3 separate regions of the Homo sapiens genome follow, and regions 1 and 3 are each linked to region 2. Evidence: promoter capture Hi-C in 16 types of primary human blood cells and fetal thymus (Javierre and others, 2016). All regions are on one chromosome and are shown on one strand. Each heading gives the region's core, a stretch centred on a gene start or on the middle of the fragment in contact. The rest is flanking DNA. Distances are from core to core; before and after follow the strand shown. Region 1 overlaps SIK3 (SIK family kinase 3). Region 2 holds the start of PCSK7 (proprotein convertase subtilisin/kexin type 7). Region 3 overlaps SIK3 (SIK family kinase 3).

What was found. Contacts are between HindIII fragments. The CHiCAGO score rates a contact against its expected background, and 5 or more counts as called.
Region 1: a fragment that was not itself captured here is called in contact with the fragment with the promoter of PCSK7 in region 2 in 3 of 17 cell types (naive CD4 T cells, M2 macrophages and naive B cells); the score reaches 5.4 in naive CD4 T cells.
Region 3: a contact is called between a fragment that was not itself captured here and the fragment with the promoter of PCSK7 in region 2, in 3 of 17 cell types (naive CD4 T cells, erythroblasts and M2 macrophages). The highest score is 6.6, in naive CD4 T cells.

What each region holds. Positions count from the first base shown.
Region 1 is chr11:116,959,101-116,963,090 of GRCh38, forward strand. All of the region lies in intron 1 of SIK3 (SIK family kinase 3), which reads right to left. Among named protein-coding and RNA genes, the nearest start is that of APOA1, 120 kb to the left of the region's middle. The HindIII fragment of the contact is 1,887 bases long and covers 1,461-3,347 here.
Region 2 is chr11:117,229,487-117,233,549 of GRCh38, forward strand. PCSK7 (proprotein convertase subtilisin/kexin type 7) reads right to left here and starts at 2,587. Exons shown (of 17, transcript NM_004716.4): 1 at 2,541-2,587; 2 at 863-982; 3 at 1-370. The coding sequence starts at 358. RNF214 (ring finger protein 214) reads left to right here and starts at 3,185. Exons shown (of 15, transcript NM_207343.4): 1 at 3,185-3,240. RefSeq lists enhancers at 1,276-1,515, 2,385-2,434 and silencers at 2,625-2,774, 2,985-3,324. The HindIII fragment of the contact is 17,537 bases long and covers 1-4,063 here.
Region 3 is chr11:116,928,056-116,932,250 of GRCh38, forward strand. All of the region lies in intron 3 of SIK3 (SIK family kinase 3), which reads right to left. Among named protein-coding and RNA genes, the nearest start is that of APOA1, 93 kb to the left of the region's middle. The HindIII fragment of the contact is 1,858 bases long and covers 927-2,784 here.

The DNA.
Region 1 (3,990 bases), core at 1,154-3,653, 270 kb before region 2:
GGGCAGACTGATTGAGTCCAGGAGTTCAAGACCAGCATGGGCAATATGGTGAAACCCCATCTCTACTAAAAAACTTTTTAAAAATTAGCCGAGCATGGTAGCATGTGTCTGTAGTCCCAGCTACTCAGGAGGCTGAGGTGGAAGGACAGTTTGATCCCGGGAGCTGAAGTTGCAGTGAGCTATGATCGTGCCAGCAACAGAATGAGACCCTGTCTCAAAAGAAAAAAAAAGAACTTCCAAACAAGTGTGTTGGAAATGGGTTACAAGCAATAATGGATCACCTCCAATCTCAACTTTCTGTGCATGCCATGATGTGCAAAAGGTGGGAAGAACTGCTAGGATTTATTTACCTTAATAACAGAGGGCATCAACTGTCTAAGGCCTGTGCCTGAAATCTTCCACCTCTGCCCACCCCCTACTAATTGATGGCATGTACAATGTAACTGGGGAAAAGCGGGTGACCTTCAGGTTAACTTATGAAATTTGTGCATTCTTTCACCTCCAAGAGATCACAGGGAGTCATATAGTGGGGCCTCCCTGATTCACAAGGCACTCACTCTAAATTTCATTTGCATTCTGAAGCAATAGGATCTTCATAATGGTAAACAGAGATTGTGTGGCTCCCAGTCAGCCACACAATCACGTGGGTAGATAACAATAGAGTGAATTAAATGCATTTCTGACTTACCATATTTTCAACTTATAATGGGTTTATTGGGACGTAACCCATCATAAGTCAAGAAATATCTGTACTAGCAATAATGCCTTTTGTTGGCTATAATTAACAATAATTTATTACATATTTCAAAATGGCTGAAGGAGATTTGAAATGTCACCAACAGAAAGACATGATAAATGTTTGGGGTAATGGATATCCTAATTACCCTGATTTGATCATTACATGTTGTATCCATGCAGCAAAATATCAAATGTACCCCATAAATATGTACTATAATAAATAAATACATACATACATGAATTTTACAAACAAATGTACTTCATCTTTTCAGGAAAAATTGCATTGAATATAATCTGTTCTTAGAAGGCACGTACAAAGAAGTTTTAATAGATTAAAACATCAAACTCCTGTCTACTCTTCAGTGAGAGTTCAGATTCCAGAAGACATTGAAAAGTGAAGCTTTGGGCCAGGCACGGTGGTTCACGCCTGTAATTCCAGCACTTTGGGAGTTAAAGGCAGGCGGATGGCTTGAGGCGAGGAGTTCAAGACCAGCCTGGGCAACAAAGTGAGACCTCATCTCTACAAAAAATAAAAAAATTAGCCAGGTGTGGTAGTGTGTGCCTGTAGTCCCAGTTACTCAGGAAGCTGAGACAGAAGGATTGCATGAGCCTAGCAAGGGTGAAGTGAGCCGTGATCACGCCACTGCATTGCAATCTGTGCAACAGAATGAGACACTTTCTCCAAAACAAAAAAACAAAACAAAACAAAAAAACCAAAGTGAAGCTTTATTTAGCAGTTGAATATAGTACTGAAAGCAAGGACTCTGAAGACAAGCTACTTAGATTCAAAATCTTGGAACTATCCCTTAATATATAACCTAGAACAGGTTACTTAATTTTCCAATGGCTCCCTATCTGTAAAATGTGGGCAACAATGGAACCTACTTTAAAGTGATTTTGGGGATTAACAAAGCTAATACATGCAACCTGATTAATATAATGCCTGGCACAGTAAACAGGCAATATATGTTAATTACAGGTAGTGCTGTTGTTATTTTATTTTCTTCTGGAATCAAGCCTTCAACTTTAGGCATTCCTTGGCAAGGATTAGATTTGCTTCACTAAGCAACATAATCCTGGATCTGAAACACATCAATTCCTTATTCAAGGGACAAATTGAGGGACCAAGAAGCAAAATAGCTAACAATTTGTGGGCAGCATTCAGAACCAACTGGCTGCCGCCAGCTGATGTGGGAAGAACATGGAAAGAACAGAGCTGGAAAAAAAATAAACGCATTCCATTCAGGAAAGTCACAGTGAGCCATAGGATGGAACCCACAGCAAGACCCGACCCTGAGGGCTGTGGCAGAGAGACACTGGTCTACTTCTTCACAGCAGGCCAGGCTCCCCTTGCCAACCCTACCTACTAGCTAACACCTGAGAGGAGAGAACTTACTGTTGCTTGGCAATGGCATAACTGCCTGATAAGACCACTTAACAGGGAAAGGAACTCAGCTCCTACCTTAGCTGCAAACTGGAAAGTGGGAGTTTTCTAAAAAGCAGAAAAATAAAGTTGGAACAGAGAAACTGCCAAGTCAGACAGCAGGTGGCTGGCACACAGGTATGATTGTTTTGAGAATATCTAAACAGATAAATGAGTATGAGTTTCACAGCTACAGATTACTGAAGACTATATAATAAAGGTTTTGGTGTAAAGTACACACCAGTTGCTTGAAAAACTGAATGTGTCCACAACAAAGGTAAATCAGTAGGTAAAGAAAAGATAAACTCTCAAAGAATGTTATTATATTGGGGTTGAAAATCTATAAATCTCCTAATTGTACTTACATATGAAAATTATAACAAAGCAGAAAACTTCCAACATGTTACCAAGAGACCATATATTTCCTAAGTTTGCCTGTTCTACACAGAATTCTTTTATCTTCCAAAGAGCATGATTTTGTAAATTGACATTCTAATATTAATTAAACATGACACTGTATCAAGTATGCTACTAAAGAGATAACAGATTGTGAGAGTCCTTAATTTCCCTACTCAAGACATTCCCATTCAACAAATTCTTCTGTTTCAATTGGCATGTGGTAGGAAAAAAATTAAATTTAGATCATGCCAAATTTAAAGTCATAGTTCTTTATTATTCATTCTATGAGAGGAAAAATTACTATTTCTCCCTTTTAATTCTCACTTCTAAAAAACACAGTTCTTTTTAACTCAACTCACTTTTGTAAGCACAATAATGTTCATAGTGAATGAAGCTGAAAAAAATAGTGGTTTCTTCACAACAGGCAATAAATTCACTTGCATATTCTGACACCATATTTGTAAGCAAGATACGGCAACAGAGTAAAAGACAATGAACTAAGGGACAGTTCAGCATTAAGATCAAAACAAACCACCCTTCCCCATCAGAAATAAATGCCCTATAGCAGATAGTACGGATTCAGGGATATGCCAGGACAAATGGACAGTTCAAGAAAGAACTACGTAGGAGGGAAATGCAAAGATCACAAGGGCTCAAATTCTTCCAAGACGAGAAAGAGGATCTCCTTACACTGGTATGCAGATGAACATACAGTAATTTCAAAGAATATAGTGAGCAGACTGCATGCTTTTTAGAAGGAAAGAGAAAACATTACAGTTTGAAGAAAAGCTTATTTTTTTAAAAAATTTGTTTTAAGGAAAGAGCTCTATTTCTTTTAGAAATGTCTTTAGAATTTAGGCAGATATCAAACATTTTGTCATTGTAAGCTTTTTTCAATGGGGTTATGTTTTTATACTAACTTCTGTAGCAAAATTTTTATTCTCTATTTTTATGACAAAGCTTATCTACTCTAGAACATTCTCGGCTCAGCTCTACAACTATTTTATGATCTAGATCTGTACAGTGTAATACAGTAGGCACCAGCCACGTGTAACTATCCAGACTGATGCGCTATAAATGTAAAATATATACCAGATTTCAAAGATAGTAATATAAAAAAGAATTAAACTATCTCCCTGATACATTTTTATATTGATTACATGTGGAAATTATAATATTTTAGATATATTAGGCTAAACAAAAGATATTAAAACTAATTTCACCACTTTTTACTTTTTTAATATGATTATTTAAAAATTGTAAATAATATATGTGCCCTCTTTCTCTTGGACGGCACTGATCCACATAATGCCAACAGGCTACATAATTAATCTACCAGTTAAAGGACGTATTCCTTGAAAATGACTTCTGAAATCATTGACTTGATATTGAGAATTGCCAACTGTCTATCTCACAGAAACCTGGCCCAA
Region 2 (4,063 bases), core at 1,337-3,836:
CAGCCTCCACCTGCTGCCGGATGGCCTCCACCTCCAGGGCCGGCCTGTGCCCAGCAGGCTGGACAAAGAGGTAGTGCCCCTGAAGCTCTCCGATGCGTCCAGCATTCACCAGCCCTGCTGCCTGGGCCAAGGCATCCGCCTGCTGCTCCAGAGTCTCTTCCTCCCCGTCACCTTCCAGGCTTTCCAGGTGCACAGCCCAGCTCGGCCCCCCTGTGCCCTGGCCATCAGGCCCACCTGTCCCTGCCAGGCCCATGACCCAGGGAACCAGTAAGAAGAGCCCGGCTAATTCCAGCCAGAGGCAGGTGGGCAGGCCCAGGGGGGCATCCAAGTGTGGCACTTTCTGCCTCCCCTTCGGCATCAGAGCAGTGGACTGCAGACAAAGAAAAAGGATATGGAAGAGATCAAAGAGCTGGTAACTGCAGGAATCTGAGAGGGAGATGCTGAGCCATCCATGTGTTCCCCCTGGAAGTCCCTAAGCCATGCCTTTTAAATTGTGAAACATTTGATCTTCTCTTTTTGTTCACATTTATCCCTGACCAACAGGGATAAGCCCCCAGGTGGAGTGTGGGCCAGCACTAACACCAGCGGATGGCCTCCCACAGCAAGACAGCCAATCCTCACGACACCAGCTAATCCAGCAGGAGGTCCAGTTGCTCACAGGCACTGCGAGCAACCCCTGTTGCCACCCACAGGGCTCAAAGCACACATCGCTTCCACAAACTACTGGCTGCATCGTGACTGTTCTTTAGCAGAGACAACCCCTTCACCCCTACATTTAGAGGGGACATAAATCTTTCCCTAGCTGACTCCTCAGTCCAGTTGTCCTCAAGGCTAATTCCCCATAACAGGGCCCCGTGCCCACCTGGATTCTACATGAGGTTGAGCTCCTGGTCTGGCTAACCACGTCACACTCATGTTGTGCAAATGGAGAAAAGGCATCACTTTCACTGTGAGTAGTGTTGACTCAGCAAAGGCTACAGACCTGTGGGATCCAAGAACAGAAGAAATAATGTCCCACCAATCCCAGGGCAACAAGCTGAGGTTAGATAAACTCCAGGACCAGGGACCAAAGAAACTTCATTAATTGTCATTTCCAAAGATCTAAAATCGGTCATAGACTGGAGCAGAACTGGTACGGTGAGGCCAAATCAGTATAACACCCAAAAAACCCACTTCCTGTGCTATCGTGCCACCCTCTTTTCATTTTGTTCCCCAGAGGCCTAGCAAAAAACAGTTACCAAAATGCCTCTTGAAAGAGTAGGTAATAACGTCCTAGAAGTCCAGGTGGTAGCTAACTTCTTGATTTGTATATCCCAGAAGGATACCAGGGAAAGTGAAAGGAGGGAGGCGGCGGGGGCGAAACGGGGAAAGCCAGAGAGTGCAAACAAAACAGAACAGGCACCAAGGACAAGCGGGCAACCAGGAGAGAACGAATGATGAGAGAACCTCACTAAGCAGCTACTCCTGTACTGAGCTCAGGAGGCTGGCTTCAAGGTGAGGACTCAGACTCCAGACTGGGACTCCAATTGCCTGGGTTTGACAGAACCAGGGAATTGGTCTCAGGAGCCCTCAAAAAAAAAAAAAAAGAGCCAAGTTAGAACTGGGGGACAGACAAATGGGGTGGCAGGACATGTGTGTACCTATGGTGGCTGGGCTCCTTTAAAAGCCTTTGCTCTCCACTGGGTCCACCCTGGGGCAGGGCTTAGTACTCAGATACACACCCAAGCGGCTCTACCTCAAAGCATTCCAGAAAAATGGGAATTTTACTGAAAGGCTTCCTGGAAAGGAGAACTTATGCCACCTCTCCTTTACCTCTAAAAATCTTCATACTACATTTCTTCCTCTCGTTTTCTCTTAGGTTTCCAGGCATATTCCCTCTCAATCCCTCCCTGCCCCCGGGAGCCTCAATTCTCCCAAGATATTTAGGTGTCTTCCCCAGTCTGCATACTCTACTAAGTAAACAAACTAACAAACAAAACCCTTGTTAGCCAGACAGTGGCCCCGCTAGGCAGACTCCTTCAGACTCAGTAGATCCCACCACAGATGTCAGGAAGAAAGAGAAGCAGGAGCTCCTTCTGTCTACTAGTGGCAAAGCAGCATTTTTATCCCCCAGGCTTCTGGGAAAGGAACCTTAAATGCCTTCTGAAAGCAGGTCTCAACCTCTCCCAACGGCTAGGCCTCCCTTTACAGCTCTTAATTGACAAGGAAGAAGAGAATGGGCAGCCTGGAGTCCAAGATCCTGCTCCCAAGCTACTGTCCTCGCTGTTCCACACCCGGCTCCTAGAAGCCAGCTTGGGTACCGGGTCAGTTTCCCGATTCTCCCTCCGTCGGCCTCGATCGCTCCGTGCAATGTGCCCCTCTCCTCATTAGCACCCACATTATCCAGGAATTCTGGGCCCTGGGGCCCCATCTCCTTGGTCCCCCACGCCAGGACCTCAGGCACCCTCTGTGCAGCTCCCTCATCCTCAGACGCCGGCTTCCCCCACTTCTGGGGCCCCCTGACCACCCAGGTCCAGCCCCACACCTAGTTCCCAACTCACCGGCCCCGCCGCAGCTGCCGCCGCCTCCCTGCGGAAACTCGCGGCTTCCCGGGAGCCGGAGGAGCAGTGACAGCAGCATCACTTCCGCCCGCGGCGCAGCCAATCAGCGCGGCGCCTGCGGCCCGGCGACCCCCGCGGGCCACAGCAACCGGCGCCCGGGGTCCGGCTCCCGCGGGCGGCCTACGCAGGCAGGGGCCGTGCGGGCGCTGGGGGCTGAACCCGCGGGCTCCGCCTCCCCGAGTCCTCGGGGCATCTTCCACATGGTCCCTCTTCAGAAGGCTCTCCTTCATGGCGTCCTCTGTAAAGGGCATTTCGGTTCCGACCTTTAAAAGCCACTCGTTGCTCTTCTCCTTCTGACCGCCATGGCCCCGACTGTCCCTGTAATCTTCCCAGAGGGGATCCTGCCCACCCAGGTCGCCTTCCTTCTCGCAGTCGGCTCTCCCTTCTTCCCCGCGCCCCGGGAGAGTCCACTTGTATCTCAGGGGTCTCCCGCAGCATCCCCGTGCCCCGGCGGCGCCAGCTGTCGCCGCCAGAGGGCGCCGTCGGGGGCGGCGCGGCGCCACCGCGGCCTCTCCTCTCGCGGCCGGAGCCTCGCCCCCTCCGCTCGTGCCGCCGGAAGTGGGAGGTGCCGCGCGCGGGCCGGCGCTCGACCCCTCCCCCCGTGGCTCGGCCGCCCCCTCCCCCCGCTCCGCCCGCTCAGGTGCGTCCCGTCCCTCCCCCACTTTCCTCCCGGGGGCGCGGCGCGGGAGGTGTGTGCGGGGCGAGCGTGGGTGGGGGTTGCGGGGCGAGGGCCGGGCATGGGGGTCGGGTGGGGGGCGTGGAGGGTGCTGTGAGAACCGAGGCGGGGGTCCCGGCCTAGAAGTGGGACGGGGGGGTGGCTGGCAGCGGGGTGGGGGGACCGAGGGGAAGGGGTGGAGGGGGGTCTGGTCCGAGCCAGCGGCCAGCCTAGCAGTCCCCTGTGGGGGGTGGCCAAGGCCACCCAGCGCCGCTTCCCCCCATTGTCCCCTTCCCGTCTGTCCCCTGTTCTCGCCCGAGGACCCGTGGCTCCGGCGCCCCTGCTTCGCTGGTGGTCGCCCCGGGTTGCGGAGTTCTTTTTGGTACACTCGACCCTCCAGCCAGCTGTTCCTACCCGCGCCACGGGCTCTCTAGCCACGGAGTTGCATGCATGGCCCTTGTCCTGGGGTTTCGTTCACCGGGCGCAGAGGACCCCCCAGCCCTGGGCTATGTTGGAGACGGGATGTTTGCACCTGAGGGAGCAGCAATGGCGGTTTGGGCCCATTTTCTCCCAGGAGCTTTGTATAATGAGGGAAACTGAGGCACAGAGGGTCTGTGGGCTGTGACTGAGGTGTTGACACAGCCCCATCTACCTATCTGCCCTATGCGCTCTTCAGTGTTCCGGGGGGGAATACGTGTGATGCTGTTAAAATAAAAGCAAGAATGCAAACTAACCCGATGTTCATCCCCACCTCCCAAGTATTTTGATTTTCTTTTCTCCTCATAAGGTCATAAGTTTGCTCTGCGGC
Region 3 (4,195 bases), core at 606-3,105, 300 kb before region 2:
AAGTTTCTACCAACTCAAATAAAATCATTTCATTGGCCATGTTGTTAACTAAGGTATATCAAAAGAATTTACATGTGATAAAATCATAATACTATAAAGCAGGCTATCCTCAATATTCAAAAATGATTTGATGGATTAGCAGGTTCTTTAAGAACTTTCTAATAATAGCAGTAGGTTTATACCAAACCAACAACATACATATCTTTGACTCAGTTCTTTATCAAACCAACAACACATATAGGTCATGACAGCTAGTGGGATTAGAAATGTCAGCTATGATACAGTTGTTCTGTTAGAAATGTCTAATAGTCTCATGAGCACTGTCCTTTAATCAACTGATCTAGCTGGGAAAAGGACATATTTGCCATCCTAAGCATCCTGAGACAGTAGGAAAGTGAAAAATGAGGGAATATAGATAAATATATTGTGATTTATCAACAGTTTTGGTAGAATACACAATTGTTTTGGTGACATCTCACTCCCTCACAGGACCAGTCAGGTGTATCTTTCCTTCACCACAAAGAGGAAGTTCAGGGTAGCACATATTTACTAGCAATAACTGCCAAGACTGAGCGCTTGTGGCAAGAAATGGTAGGGGAGAAGGTTGAAGAAGGGGAGTTAGATGCCAGCCCATCTACAGAGCAGATTGCAAAATAATTCAAACTGCATTCTGACCACAAGAAATATAACATTCTGGAATGCAAATACTGTAGTCACTTTAAGAACATATCTTATATGTAGATAATATAAATCATTAAGAAAGATCCTCAAAGGAATTATTGTAATTTTTGTTCGCCACACACAAGGCTTTTGAAGCATCTCCCTCAAAAATACAAGTCATTGTTATAGCCAAGATTATCGATTTAATAGAAGAAAAAGGAGAAAATAAGAAGTCTTCCACTTAGCAGTTAAAAGGACTAGAATCAAGCTTTCCCTGGGAGGTCAGAGGTGGGGATAAGTAAGCTCCCACTCGGGTGTGTTTAGGCTTCCGGTGAGGTCTGCTATGAACTTTAAACAACACGAAGTCCAAACTAGGGAGAGTAACTTAACAGAAGCTGTGAAAGAACTGGCCATCCATCAGAGGTAGAATGCTATGTTTTAAGAGGCCATTTTCTAACAGTACCTGCTCCTCTGACCCCCTATTTCTCTTAACCCAAGGCCTAATTATTCTAATAATATGTTTTAGTTGCTAAACCTTGTCTAATTAAAGAGCTTTGAAGAGACAGCTATTCTTGAGAAACATAAAAATAAACCCTTATGAAGGTTTACCATCAGAAGCTCATTTGGCCAAGCTACCCATTAATTAAAATGCCCAAGAGACATTTGTCTGGCAGTAAATACTAATTACCAGAACACATCAAAGTGCTTCTTAAATGCTGCAGAATGATTAATTTCACAATTTCCAAAATAAGTGATTTCTTTTATTAAGAAAGTCTTTATAAATTTCTAAGTACCTTGTTTTCCTAAAGTGATTGGAAAGTTCTCAAAACTGTTATACGGGCCAGAAGCTGCTGGAATGCAGCCTAGTTCTGTTTTATCTCTACAGTGACACATCAGTTGTCCCTGGACAAATCATTTATCCTGCCAATACCCCCACCTCTTGATCTTCTAAATACAAGTAAACTCTGTTGCATGCTATACCCAAAGAAAGAACAGAATATTTGGGAATAAACGTGTACTCTGATTAAGAGTATCATACGTTAAAACTTTCACTTTCAAAGATGTTGCAAAAGACATTTTTGAAAAGGTCCACTGAATACTATATAGGGAATACTTAAACATCTAGTCAATAGAGCACAAAGTCCTTCAGGATTCTGCAGAGCTTAAAGGTGATTTTCTACACATCGATTGTCACTGTTAATGGTTCTGGTTAAAAGGTAGCTGTAACAGCGCACTGGGTAGTACAGCTTAAACTATAATACTTTCCCCAAAGTTACCTTCAGTACCCCTATAGTTATAGATACAAAGAAGATAAACAAATCACTTTTTTTTTTCCCCTGGACTCTAAATACACTTACGGAACAAATCACTTTTTTTTTTTAAAGTGTTCACATTAGATATTTGCTCCTAGCCATTGTGTTTAGGGTTCAAGTTTTCTTCTCTTTGGGAGCACTGTGCTCTTCACATGCAAGCTCCTTCCAGTGGCTCAATCGCATTCAGACCTCAGCCTCTGCCCTGATTTTTGCCCATCTTATCCCCCCAACCCCTACTCCCATTGGTTTGCTTTCACTGTAAACCTACGAGGTCTAGTGGGTGTGCCAGGAAGCCAGCAGCCTGCAGTGGTTTTCACTCCCTGCTGAAAATCGCCTTTCAGCTGCCTGCTGACAAATAGCTGCTTTATATTCGTATATGCTCTAGAGGCAGGCAGCAAACATTCTTCAAGTTCAAATGTGATATTTAACTTTCAGTGAAGAAATCCAGAGCTGTAGACCAGCCTGGACTTAACACATAGTCACAGCATTTTTACAAATACTGCAGTACTTTCAGAAGGCAAATGAAACCAAATGGCTCCTGAATCCACTCAATACGCAAAGTAAAATGTACGTTGAACCTTGTCAGGATAAACTCCAATTGCAAGGAACTCCAGAGTTGTTCTGCTTCTTCCAGGCAATTCAGTGAACTACCTCTCCTAAATACTGAGACACAAATACTACCCATATCCTCATCCCAATCATCCACACTGCAGCCATGCCCCTAGCTAGAGTCCTGCCCCCTCCCCACCCCCACCAATCTAAACAAACCTCAAGTAGACACCTGCTGCATAAAGTCAAGTCCATCACACTAAGCTTTTTTCACCATCAATCAACTACTTATCTATTTAGTTGCCATTATAGGTCTGGGACAAATTTAAAGTTTTCTTTGACCACAATTTCACTCCAAACATGTACCCAGACAGGGATGAGGTGACTCTCGGTTAAAAGGAAAAAAAATGGTTCTCCTGTTTCAAGTGCTTTTCAAAAGTAAAAAGTAAAACAAAGTAAAAAAAAGTAAAAAGTACTTTTAAATTCTCTTTCTCACTTTCCCATGACCATGACTTGGCATTGGTCTTCTTTAATCTTTTTGGTCTGCCCTTCCTTGCAAAATGAAAAGAAGTAAGTGACACTAAGAGATTTACATACCCGACGAAGAGTAATATTGTTAGAAGTACAGGAAATCGATTTTGAATTTTCTAAAGTATTAGAGCACCAGCACGTAAGTTTGCTTCAGAATTCACTGTTTGTAATTTTGTCCCAATCTTACTCAGGAAGAAAATATCTTGTGGTACATTTAGGTTCTGACCTTTCAAAGAGCAAAAATACACAGAAGCCAGTCTTACCTTCCCTAGGCCAGCTTCAATGGAGTGTCAGAGGTATGCCACTAATGGGATAGTGGTGCGGAGCCAACATTTCTTAAAATAAGTCACTTTTCCACTCTAAACAGACAGTGTCTCCATTTGTCTGCTAAGTCTACAACTCATAGTTGATGCAAAACACTAGCTGAAAATGAACATACCCTGACAGCAGGACAAGCAATAGGCAGAAATACCACATTTCAGTGAAGAATGAACCCAGCCTAGAAAAGGGAAAAGGCAGTATGTGTGCTCATCTTCATCTTAGGTGACTACCTGAAAAAACTTCTGCCAATTCCAAACTAACCACAGCTAGTAGTTCTTTGCTTTGCCACTCAGTTCTATCATTTCTTCTTCCTACACCCATGGAAACGACTTCCTGTTTATCAAACAAACGCTTCTTTCCAAAAAAGCAGGGCGAGGCCAAGATAACTCAGCTCCCCCTAAGCAGGTTAATAAGAGTGCAGTCACTTTAATATCCTATTGTCCTCTAACTCCCAGGCGTGGCTGCCACTGACTAGAGGAAGAGGGTTTGTCATTTTGTCTTTCTTGCCAAGAATCCAACTACCTCTTACCGGGCTTCTTGACTTGTTGCTGCTTCTTGTTACTATCTCTTTTCTTTGCTCCTCCATTGACCAGGCCAAAAACTTTTATGGCATCTTTCATTCTTCTCTTTCTCTCACACCCTGCATCCTATCCATCAGCAAATTCTATTAACTCTACGTTCAAATCATATTCAGAATCCAACTATTTCTCACCCCTGCCTTCACTCCACTCTAGTGCCACCAGCCTCATTTAACAGCAACTACCTCACTCCTAGATTTCTGCAATAACCTCCTAGGATTACTCCTCAAAAGAGCAGCCAAG